2 separate regions of the Homo sapiens genome follow, and region 1 is linked to region 2. The links are contacts of gene promoters, found by promoter capture Hi-C in human tissues and cell types (Jung and others, 2019). All regions are on one chromosome and are shown on one strand. Each heading gives the region's core, a stretch centred on a gene start or on the middle of the fragment in contact. The rest is flanking DNA. Distances are from core to core; before and after follow the strand shown.

Region 1 (5,907 bases), core at 2,852-5,351, 650 kb before region 2:
CCTTTTGTGTCTCTTAGTTAAGTCTCTTAGAGATCATCTGATTGGACCAGCTGACCTTTTGGAGTCTAGTTGCAAATCCTAGACCACTGGCCATCCTATGACTGGATTGGCTGGCCTTATATCAGGTGCAATCTTTGATCCAATCAGCTGTGACCAAGGACAGGTCCTGCCTTCCTACCAGGGACTGTAGATAAAGCAGGCAATGATACTCCAGAGATAAGATCTAGGAAACTAGCATTTCACTGGGTGCCTAACTTATTAAACTTCTGAAAATACATGTTAGGTAGTGTCTAATGTATTCCTGATTAAAACTGTCAAATGGCTTCTAAATGCACTTAGGGTCAAAACTCAACATCCTTAGCATGCCCTTAATGCTGCATCCTCTGGACCCAGCTTTCTTTCCTGTTCTCATCAGTGCTACTCTTCCTACACCTTACTGGCCTGTTTTGCTGTTGTTGTTTGCTTGGTTGGTTGTTTTTTGTTTGTTTGTTTGTTTTTGGTCTCTCCAGTCTCAGGACATTGCACATGCTGGTTTTTTTCCCCTAGACACTTTATTTATTCCCTTTCCTCGAATAACTCCCAATCTTGCTTTTGCTCTGATCCTAAATGTCATTTCCTCTTCTTTGATCTCCCCTCCACCAGCTAAATTAGAGGTCCCTGTTTATTTATTTATTATGTTATTTTATTTTATTTTTTGAGATACCGTCTGGCTGTGTCGCCCAGGCTGGAGGGCAGTGGCTTGATCTCGGCTCACTGCAACCTCCGCCTCCCAGGTTCAAGTGATTCTCCTGCCTCAGCCTCCTGAGTAGCTGAGATTACAGGCGTGTGCCACCACATCCGGCTAATTTTTGTATTTTCAGTAGAGGTGAATTTTCACCATGTTGGCCAGGCTGGTCTCGTACTCCTGACCTCAAGTGATCCACCCACCTCGGCCTCCCAAAGTGCTGGGATTACAGGTGTGAGCCACCGCACCTAGCCAGAGATTCCCATTTATATTTGTATTTTTTGCATTACGTTTTCCCTTCATGACATAGATCACAATTTTGAATGATGTTGATGTGTATGTTCATTTGTTCAGTGCTTGTCTCCTCCACTAGACTGAGACTTCCATGAGGACAGTGGTCATATCTTTTGGGATTATTACTCCTTCTGGCTGTCTTAGTCTGTTTTGTGTTGCTGTGAAGGAATCTCTGAGGCTGGGTAATTTATATATAACAGAGGTTTATTTGGCTCACGGTTCTGCAGGCTGTACAAGAAACATGGTGCCAGCATCTGTTCTGGTGAGGGCTCAGGAAGCTTTTACTCACAGCAGAAGGCAAGGGGAGCCGGCATATGCAGAGATTACATGGCAAGAGAGGAAGCAAGAGAGAGACAGAGGGGAGGTGTCAGGCTGTTTTAAACAACCAGCTCATGTGAACTAATACAGTAAGAATCCGCTCATTCCCAAGGGAGGGCATTAATCTACTCATGAGGGATCCACCTCTCTGACCCATCTGCCTCTCATCAGGCTCCACTTTCAGCATTGGGGATCAAATTTCAACATGAGGTTTGAAGGGGGTCAAACATCCAAACGATAGCACCAGCGCACAATAAGTGCTGAATGATAAGTGCTGAATAAATAAATGAATGAATAAATGGATGAATGCGCAGAAGTGAGAGATTGTGTGGCCCGAGGAGCCACAAAAGACTTCATGGTGCTGGGTGCAATGGGTCATGCCTGTAATCCCAATACTTTGGAAGGCCGAGGTGGGCAGATCACTTGAGGTCAGGAGTTTGAGACCAGCCAACATGGCAAAACCCCATCCCTAATAAAATACAAAAATTAGCCGGGAGTTTTAGTGTACACCTGTAATCCCAGCTACTTGGGTGAGTAAGGCATGGGAATTGCTTGAACCTGGGAGGCGGAGGTTGCAGTGAGCTGAGATTGTGCCGCCACATTCCAGCCTGGGCAACAGAGTGAGACTCTATCTCAAAAAAAAAAAAAAAAAGACTTCATGGAAAGCATGAGGCTTGACCTTGGCCTTGAAGGATGGATAGGATTTGGAGAGGGCAAGCGGAAACATTTCAGGTAGGGATAACCTTTATCAGCAAAGGCAGAGAATCGGGAGAAAGCCTGAGCTAGCCCAGGGTATAGTGTGGACACCAGCCTGATTAGTGCAGAAGCCTGTGCTGACAAGATCTGGAAAAGAAGATTGTCCAGGCAGAAAAGCACCCAAATGGGAAAAATGTAAATCTGTGAACTATATTAAATCACAATAGCTAACATCTATATGGTGCTTATGGTGTTTCAAGTTCTTTTCTAAGTGCGTTGTGAAGGTAAGCTCATTTAATCCTCACGATGAACTTACGGAGTAAGTGCTATATTTGTGCCCATTTTATGGACAGAGAAGCTGAGACAGAGGGTGACGATCTTGTCAAAGGTCTGTGGTTGATAAATACAGAGCTGGGATTCAAAGTCATTGGATTCAAAGTCAAAGGAATCAAACTCCGCAACTGTCCAGATCCAGTTGCAGAGTTTCCATGCTTGAATGTTGTGCAAGCTGCCTCTCTGTTCTCAAAAGGTAGAGGCATAACTTGGCAAAAACTCAGTTCCAGGGACTACACATTAAAGCAGCAGCAAAGAGAAACTCAAGGGTTCTGGTCCTGAGATTGGTGGAGGGATCTGCTGGTCCAGAAATTTGGTCCCTCAAATGCAGCTGGGAAAGGGAGCTGCATTTGAGGGAGAAGGAGATGGAGAACTCAGCAATGGAGCAAGAGATTCAAGCAGCATGGCCAGGAATGCTTAGTGAGGGGCTGCTGCATGGGCTTTCAAGTCAGGCAGACGTGGGTTTGTGTATCGACTTTGCTGTCTACTTGTAAGTTTCACCATCTTCACAATGGATTTAACAATCATACCTGCCACAAATATGAGAATTCAATGAGACAAGATGAGTGAAGTTCATGGCACAGTGTCTGACACAGAGGGTGGCGGCTTAGTGAATGGAAATAATCTTCCAGTGGATTTGGATGGCAAGGATAGGCCTGAATCCTGGCTGCAACCCAGAAGTGGTAATATTAATATCTATCTGATGCCAGCCAGCGGGGTTCAACTGAGCAGCTGTCAAGCAAAGGTATCCCGAGGCTCCTGTGCCAAAGCTTTTCAGGGAGCAAACCTAGATGGTGCGGTGGGGAGGCATGTGGGGTACAGAGGGAGTCCTTCCGGGGGTCACGTGGCCATTTCTCTCCTCTAGCACTCTGGCCTTTGCAGAAGGACTTTATTCTTGACTACCAGGGCTGATACCCCGCTAGTTAAGGCGCTGGGGCCTTTCTCTCCATCCCAGATCCACTTCCCCGATGCCCTGTTTTTGCACACTCCCAGTTCCCAGGGTGCCTGGATGCTGCTGCTTCCCCTTCACAGTGTTCTTCACATATTTGCTCCAGTTCTCAGATCCTTCCCTCTCCAAGGGTGGCTGGACCACTTGTCCCCAAGAGTAGGAGGAGATGCATGGCCCCTGAGCAAAGATGACATGCAAATTCGTGAAGCATTCCACAGTTTCAAATAGTTAATGCATTCAGGGCTTAAAACCTAGATGACGGGTTGCTAGGTGCAGCAAACCACCATGCAACATGTATACCTAGGTAACAAACCTACAAGTTCTGCCCTTGTATCCAGAACTTAAAGTAAAATAATAATAAAAAAAAATTACCTGAGTTACCATTCCCAAATATTTTTCACATGCTTCAAAATAAAATCTACCTCATCCTTCATCTTTAAAAAAAAAATTAAAAAAATAAAGTGCTCTGTAAACTTCCATAATAAAAAGAGTAGATGATTTGATATGGTGCATGGCCGCAGTATCACAGAGCGTCAAATCACACAGTGAGAAGGGTATTCCCTTTTGACTTCTCCTTTGCTCCTTCTGAGTAAACCAAGGGAAGCATCTTCTTTTGGTGCCAGAATATCCTTTAACACCTCTCTAACACTTCGGTTATATCCTTTTCACAAAGAACAGGCAGCCGGCAGCCGGCCTTCAGCTGAACTCAGGGAGGTGGAGGTTGCAGTGAGCTAAGCTAGCAACAGCTAAAGTATAGCATGATTGTTTTCGTTTGTATTGTATTTATTTTCCCAGTTACCATTTGATTATGGCAAGGAATTTCAGTTTTCTCTTTATAGTAGTGTTATAAAATTCCTTTTCGAAATATATTTATTAAAGGATTAAAAGCAAGTAGGCTTGAAGAAAGACATTAGGTAAATAGTTGTTGATGTGGGATGTGGCTATAAAAAACTTCCTAGGAGTGGCGCTCAAATGACTGAGCTTGGAAAATGCTGGAATACTGGGGAAGCCACGCAACGTAGGAAGCAGAGGCTTAGATACAAATGTCGCTCTGCTCATTAGCACCCAAGACGCTTACTTTCTTTGAGCCTCTATTTCCTTACCTGCCAAAATGGAGATGATAATTCCTACTACACGTGGTTCTTTGGAGGACTAAATGAGATAATTTAATGTATGTGCGTGTCATTTGCATGCAATGACTCAAGTGTTGAACAAAATGAATTGTCCCTAGGTGCACTTTACAATGAAATTTACTGTGTGAGTGTGGGCAAGGTACTAGTTTCCCAGTACTTCTGTCCCATAGTGGGAATACAATTTGGGCAAGTCATGGTACTTCTCTTTCCTCAGTTTCCTCATTGGTAAAGTGGAGATTTTGGGAGGTATTTTCTTCATGGGATTACTGGAAGGATGAAATGATTTTGTGTGTGTATGGCAGCAGAACACAGCCTGGTACCCACAGTATCAGCTAAGTGTGAGCTCTCAAGCCTGCAACCCTGCCTCCTAGCATGCTGCGGCCCTAAGTGGGAAGGCTCCTCAGAAGTGCGAAGACCTGGGTGTGTGCCAAAAATGCTCAAGGAAGTCACTGTGGGCATAGGTGACATATTTCTCATACTTTTTTCTTTTCTTTTTTCAGACAGGGTCTCACTCTGTCACCCAGGTTGGAGTGCAGTGGCATGATCACGGCTCACTGCAGCCTCCACCTCCCTGAGTTCAGGTGATCCTCCCATCTCAGCCTCTCAAGTAGCTGGGACTACAGGCATGTGCCACCATGCTCACCTAATTTTTGTATTTTTTTGTAGAGCCAGGGTTTCATTGTGTTGCCCAGGCTGGTCTCAAACTACATTTGTCTCAAACTACATTGGCCTCCCAAAGTGTTGGGATTACAGAAGTCAGCCACCATGCCTGGCCAACATATTTCTCATGCTTTCCAACATCAAATATTTAAAATATTCAAATCCTTCCATTCTCTCTTCCCAGAGCCCTCAGAGCCTGTGCAAAGTATACTCTCTCTCTCTCCCTTATATAAAGTAACTTCCATTTGGCTTTTATCTTGCTAAAGTAACCCTTGCTGTGGACTGAACTGTGTCTCCATCCACCTTCCCATTCCCCCAAAATGCATATGTTGAATCCCTAATCCCCAGTGTGATGATATTTGGAGATAGGATCTTTGAGAGATAATTAGGGTTAGATGAGATCATGGGGGTGGGACCGGTGGGACCCTCACTGTGGGATCTGTGGCTTTATGAAAAGAGAAATTGAGAGAGAGAGAGAGAGAAAGAGATTACTTTCTTTCTATCATGTGAGAACACAACAAGAAGGCTGCTGTTTACAAGTCAGGAAGAGGAGCCCTGAGCAGAAACTGAATTACTGACATTTTAATCTTAGACTCCTTAGCCTCCAGAACTTTGAGAAATAAATGTCTGTTGTTTAACCAGTCTTTGATTTTTTTATTTTTAAGAGCTGGGGTCTCAGCTAGACTTGAACTCTTTAACTCCTGGGCTCAAGTGATCCTCCCGCTTCAGCCTCCAAGTCTGTAGTTCCATGAGCTGGGACTACAAGCTCATGCCGCCTCTCCTGGCCCATTTTGATATTT
Region 2 (5,745 bases), core at 2,485-4,984:
TGTTGCCCAGGCTGGAGTGCAGCTCACTGCAACCTCCACCTATGGGGTTCAAGTGATTCTTCTGCCTCAGCCTCCCAAGTAGCTGGGATTACAGGCACGCACTACCACACCCGGCTAACTTTTGTATTTTTAGTAGAGACAAGGCTTCACCATGTTGGCCAGGCTGGTTATTGTCTCAAATCTAGGGTCCTAACCTGAGTTTTCTGAAAACTCAAAAACTAGAAGAATTTTCATTTTCTCTTTCTGCTTTCTCATCCATTTGCTGAGGTAACAAAATTTAGGGCTGACTTGCTTGAATGGGAGAAGGACTGTTGGGGAAAAGGAAACTCTGGAGTGGAAAAAACATGTAAATATTTGAACATAGGATCCCATCATACATACAGGCACAGGGAGAAGAAACCATTGGCGGAAGTAGGACAGAATGTTAACGGGGTGCTGTTTTCAAACGGTGGACCCATGAATGAACTTTTTAAAAAAATTTTATTTATTTATTTTTTATTTTTTTTATTTTTATTTTTGAGTTGGAGTGTTGATCTGTCTCCCAGGCTGGAGTGCAATGGCGTGATCTTGGCTCACTGCAACCTCTGCCTCCCGAGTTCAAGCAATTCTCCTGCCTCAGCCTCCTGTGTAGCTGGGATTACAGGCATGTGCCACTACGCCCTGCTAATGTTTGTATTTTTAGTAGAGACAGGGTTTCACCATGTTGGCCAGGCTGGTCTTGAACTCCTGACCTCAAGTGATTCACCCACCTCAGCCTCCCAAAGTGCTGAGATTACAGGATGAGCCCCTGCACCCAGCTGATTATTATTAATATTTTTGAGATAGTGTCTTGCTCTTTAGCCCAGGCTGGAGTGCAGTGGTGCAGTCACAGCTAACTGCAGCCTCCAGCTCCTAGGCTCAAGTGATCCTCCCACCTCAGCCTCCTGAGTAGCTGGGACTACAGGTGTGAGCCACCACACCTGTCCAGATATTTTCTTATTTAAATTTTTCTGAATTTTACAAAGTTTCTAGAATGTATATTGCTTTTATCATTACACACACACACACACACACACACAATTTATTCCAGTTCATTTGCAGTTTGTATTTTATGCAAGTCAAATTTTTTGCATGAGAAATGCCTGAATCCAAGCATAGTAAACACAATGTACATTTCAAAACAATGCAGAGTGTACAAAATATAGAGCAGAAAGGAGGGTTCATTCACACACTCAATAGCTTGGGTTAGGTTCTACAATGGCAAACAATCACTTTTGTTATAAAGTTAGGAGTACTGGGCCAATTTAGGGGTGTTGGAACAGCTAAGCATGAAAGAGCAACCAAGTAAACTAAAGACTTCATAATGTACATATTTCTTTGTTTTTGTTTTGTTTTGTCTTGTTTTTTATTTATTTATTTATTTTGAGACAAAGTCTCACTCTGTTGCCCAGGCTGGAGTGCAATGGCACGATCATGGCTCACGGCAGCCTCCACCTCCTGGGTTCAAGCAATTCTCCTGCCTCAGTCTCCCAAGTAGCTGGAATTACAGGCATGCGCCATCACGCCCGGCTAATTTTGGTATTTTTAGTAGAGACAGGGTTTCACCATGTTGGCCAGGCTGGTCTCAAACTGCTGACCTCAGGTGATCCACCCACCTCGACCTCCCAAAGTGCTGAGATTACATGCATGAGCCACCGCGCCCAGCCTGTTTTGTTTTTTAGAGACAGGGTCTCACTCTGTTGCCCAGGCTGGAGAGCAGTGGTGCTACCTGCAGCCTGGATCTCCTGGAATCAAGGGATCCTCCTACCTCAGCCTCCCAAGTAGCTGGGGCTACTAGTGCACACCAGCGTGCCTGGCTTATTTTTTATTTTTTGTAGAGACTGAGGTCTTGCTATGTTGCCCAGGCTGCTCTTGAACTTCTGAACCTGGTATGGCTTAGTGTGAAATAACTTTCACAAAAATCCCAACCTGTTTCAACCCAGCCTAAGACAGTGGTGTAGTTCCTTCAGATGGTCAGCTAGGAGGTCCAAGCAGGATAAGGACAAGGAAGGGGCTGACAGAGTGGAAGAGAGACTGAGGGATGAAGGTACCGTGTAGGTCAGGGCACAGGGATAAGGAGAATGAAAGGGTGAAACCGTTGCATGGAGAGGAGGCTGCAATCAGAGAAAGGGACATTGGAACTAAAGTGGTTCTGAGTGTGACAAGGGCCCAGTGCAGTTGTGGCGTGGGGGATAAGGTCTCCAAAGAGGTACACCCACTGAGAGGCTGCAATGCTGGCTAAGCTGTACCTTGGACATTGAAGACACCAAGGAGAGTGGCAGGATTTGTGATGGAGATGAAGGCTAGGGGCCAAGCTACCAAGTTTTCAGTAACTGTGAGGGGATGACCAGGAGGGCCAAGGATGACAAAGAGGACGGGGAGAAGGTGGCAGAGCTGGGCTGCATGACCCTCAAATCAGCAGGGATTTTTTTTTTTTTATTTTTACACAAGGATGAAGGAGACATGAATGAGTTGAAACTTGCAAACAGGGTGGACCTTACCTTCAAGGACCCTGGCAGACCCTCTCTGAACAAAACTGGAGACATCTACCAGGAGCAAGGGTGGTCACGGCCATTAGAAGGTGCCCTTCCATGCGGAGTTGTCTTACATCTAAGGCATAGGAATCTCTAAGCTCTACGAAGACAGGGACCTCATCATCTTGTTCATCAGGCAGGCATGTCATAGCTTATAATAAATGCATATTTATTGGCTGGGCGCGGTGGCTTATGCCTGTAATCCCAGCACTTTGGGAGGACGAGGTGAGCGGATCAACTGAGGTCAGGAGTTTGAGACCAGCCTGGCCAAAGTGGTGAAGCCCCATCTCTACTAAAAATACAGAAATTAGCTGGGCATGTTGGCCCACATTTTTAATCCCAGCTACTCGGGAGGAGGATTGCTTGGACCCAGGATGCAAAGGTTGCAGTTAGCCAAGATAGTGCCATTGCACTCCAGCCTGGGTGACAAGATCGACTCTGTCTCAAAAAATAAATACATGCATATTTATTTATTTATTTTATTTTTGGAGAGTGTGTCTCTCTCTGTCGCCCAGGCTGGAGTGCAATGGCACAGTTATAGCTCACTGCAGCCTTGACTTCCTGGCTCAAGCAATCCTCCCACCTCAGCCTCGCGAGTAGCTGGAACTACAGGTGGACATCACCACACCTGGCCATTTTTTTTTGTAGAGATGGGGTCTCACTATGTTGCTGGTCTCCAACTCCTGGTTTCAAGTGATCCTCCCTCCTAGGCCTCCCAAAGTGCTGGGATTACAGAGGTGAGCCACTTACCTGACCCATAATAAATATTTATTGAACGAACGACTGAATTCACCAATTAATCGCTATTTCCTGATAGCCCACCGGGATCCGCTGGTGCAATGATAAAGAGCGCAGGCTTTGAGATCAGGCGGATCTGTATTGGGACTGCGGCTCTCAGCCTCCGCTTGTACCTGCTGTGCAGTGAGGACTCCAGGAACTGATGATGAACCGGCACGGTCCTCGGCACGTGGCAAGTTCTCCATAAGTGGGCTCAGTAAAATCCCTCTCCCGGGAAAGCGCCCCACCGTGTTTGGTGGGGTGACTGGGACGCGAGGATGCGGCTGGGAGTGTGATGAGAAGGGCGGGGATCGGCGAGGACTCCAGGCTGGGGTTGCAGGCCCAGCCAGGGGCGGAGCCTTCTCCGGGTCGGGCGGGGACAGAGCGCTCCCTTGGAGGCACCCAGGGACCTGGCCAGCCGTGCAGCTGCCCAGGCGCTATGGCGAGTGCGGTCAGGGGGTCGAGGCCGTGGCCCCGGCTGGGGCTCCAGCTCCAGTTCGCGGCGCTGCTGCTCGGGACGCTGAGTCCACAGGTGAGAGCCAGGGACCGACGCCAAGTCCCCAAAGTCTGGTCGCGGGGCGCAGGGGGCGGCGTCGCACTTGGGGCGAGGGCGCGGCGGGGCCACGGGGGCACCTCTCCCTCCCTCACGCCTGGGTGGTCCCAACTCGGCCCCAACGGAGTAAAAGCCTCCTGGGTTTGGGGAGCCGCCAGTTGCCCCCAACAAATACCTAGCTGGGGAGATCTGCCAGCGTGGAAAGGCAAGAGTAGACAGAGCACCCCGCCTCTTCAGCAGGGAGAGGTGTAGTCTGGGGTAGGGGGGCACCTGGGCACGAAAGCCAGGCCTCTTAAAACTTCTGGGAATCCTGGCTTCCTTTGAAAATATGATTGACTTCAGGGCCCTCTGCTGAGAAATGAGCCTGCACGCCCAGTTTTGCAATTTCAGAGGCTTTACAATACGGTCCCCTTACCCATGGCTGCACCCCAGGTTCAGAACCTATGGGATAAATGAGCTGGGAGTGTCAGTATCTGCTCCCACGGTGCCAGGAATAGCAGAGTCTTACAGAAATGCAGCCAGGAGGCAAAAGTCGCCTGGCCTAAGAATCCAGGTGTCCCGCCTAGAACCCCCATGGGGCAAAAGCGATCAGGTAGAGTTAGGCACCTCTCATTCCCGGCTTCCACCTCATGGGTCCACCTCATGGTTGCCAGCTAAGAATGCAAGCCCAGTGTGGCCAGATCGGATGTCTCTGGAAAAATTAGAAATGAGAAAGATTTGAAATCTTGGTTTTTTTGTAGAAATCATCCAATTTTTAAAAAAATTGGCAGCTAATTGAAAAATTTTTAAGCACTAGATGGTCAAACAAAATTCATTTCTGGGCAACCAATCTGCAGCCTCTTCTCCAAACCGTTCTCCCTCCTGCCATGCTGCAGATGACAAAATTGAAGCCCAGAAAGAAAGAGGGGCTAGCAGATAATTTCCTGACCCTCCACTCAACACCAGTGGCCCAGCCCCAAACCTGAGGGTCCTGAAGCAGGATGTGGCCTTTGTAGGGGTGCGGCTGGGCCACCCGGATGTTAGGCCTCCTGCTGGGAGCTCAGCCTCACCCTGTTTGCTCAAGGAGGGACTGGAGCAGGTGAGTGAGCCCAGGATCGCCAGATGTAAGTACGGGTGGCTCCAGCCCCCCTCCCAAGGGCACCCCCCAGCCTTGGGTCAAGGGACCCACTGGAGCCTGGCACCAAAACCAGCTGGGCTGGTTTGGGGAGGCAGAAAGGGGCATCCCAAAAGAGGTAGACATTGTGGCAGAGGAAAAAGAGGCCAGGCATAGGAATCAGAGGGATGGCAACTCAAGTCCTTAGTTTTGCCACTTATTATCTCTGTGGCTTTATGCCAATGACCTAACCAATGACCTAACTTTCCTGAGCCTCAGTCTCCCTCCTCTGTAGAATGGGAAAACTAATAATACCAGTCTTAGAATGGGTGCAGTGGCTCATGCTTGTAATCCCAATACTTTGGGAGGCTGAGGCAGGAGGATCGCTTGAGGCCAGGAGTTCCAGACCAGCCTAGACAACATAGCAAGACCCCATCTCTACAAAAAAATACAAAAATTAGCCAGGTGTGATGACAGACACCCGTAGTCCCAACTACTTGGGAGGCTGAGGTGTGAGGATCAGCTGAGCCCAGGGGTTTGAGGCCACAGTGAGCTATGACTATGCCACTTCATTCCAGCCTGGGCAATAGAGCAAGACCCTGTCTTATATTAAAACAACAAGAACAATAACAAAAAGAAACAAAACAAACAATGAAGTCATTTTGTAAAGGCCTTTAGTCTTCTTTGGAAAACCAGAATGAATTGAGGAAGGAGGTAAGTAATTGGGAATTTAGATACATTGGGAGCCAAAACCTCCCCTCAGAACCCCC

The links. The method cuts DNA at HindIII sites, captures the fragments that hold promoters and counts their contacts. A contact is called where the count stands out against the background at its distance.
Region 1: a contact is called between a fragment that was not itself captured here and the fragment with the promoter of ERN2 in region 2, in 2 of the 25 tissues and cell types used here (H1 embryonic stem cells and lymphoblastoid cells).

The regions. Positions count from the first base shown.
Region 1 is chr16:24,362,902-24,368,808 of GRCh38, reverse strand. No RefSeq gene overlaps it. Among named protein-coding and RNA genes, the nearest start is that of CACNG3, 110 kb to the right of the region's middle. The HindIII fragment of the contact is 3,769 bases long and covers 2,217-5,907 here.
Region 2 is chr16:23,711,211-23,716,955 of GRCh38, reverse strand. ERN2 (endoplasmic reticulum to nucleus signaling 2) reads left to right here and starts at 3,734. Exons shown (of 22, transcript NM_033266.4): 1 at 3,734-3,861. The coding sequence starts at 3,769. The HindIII fragment of the contact is 19,919 bases long and covers 1-5,745 here.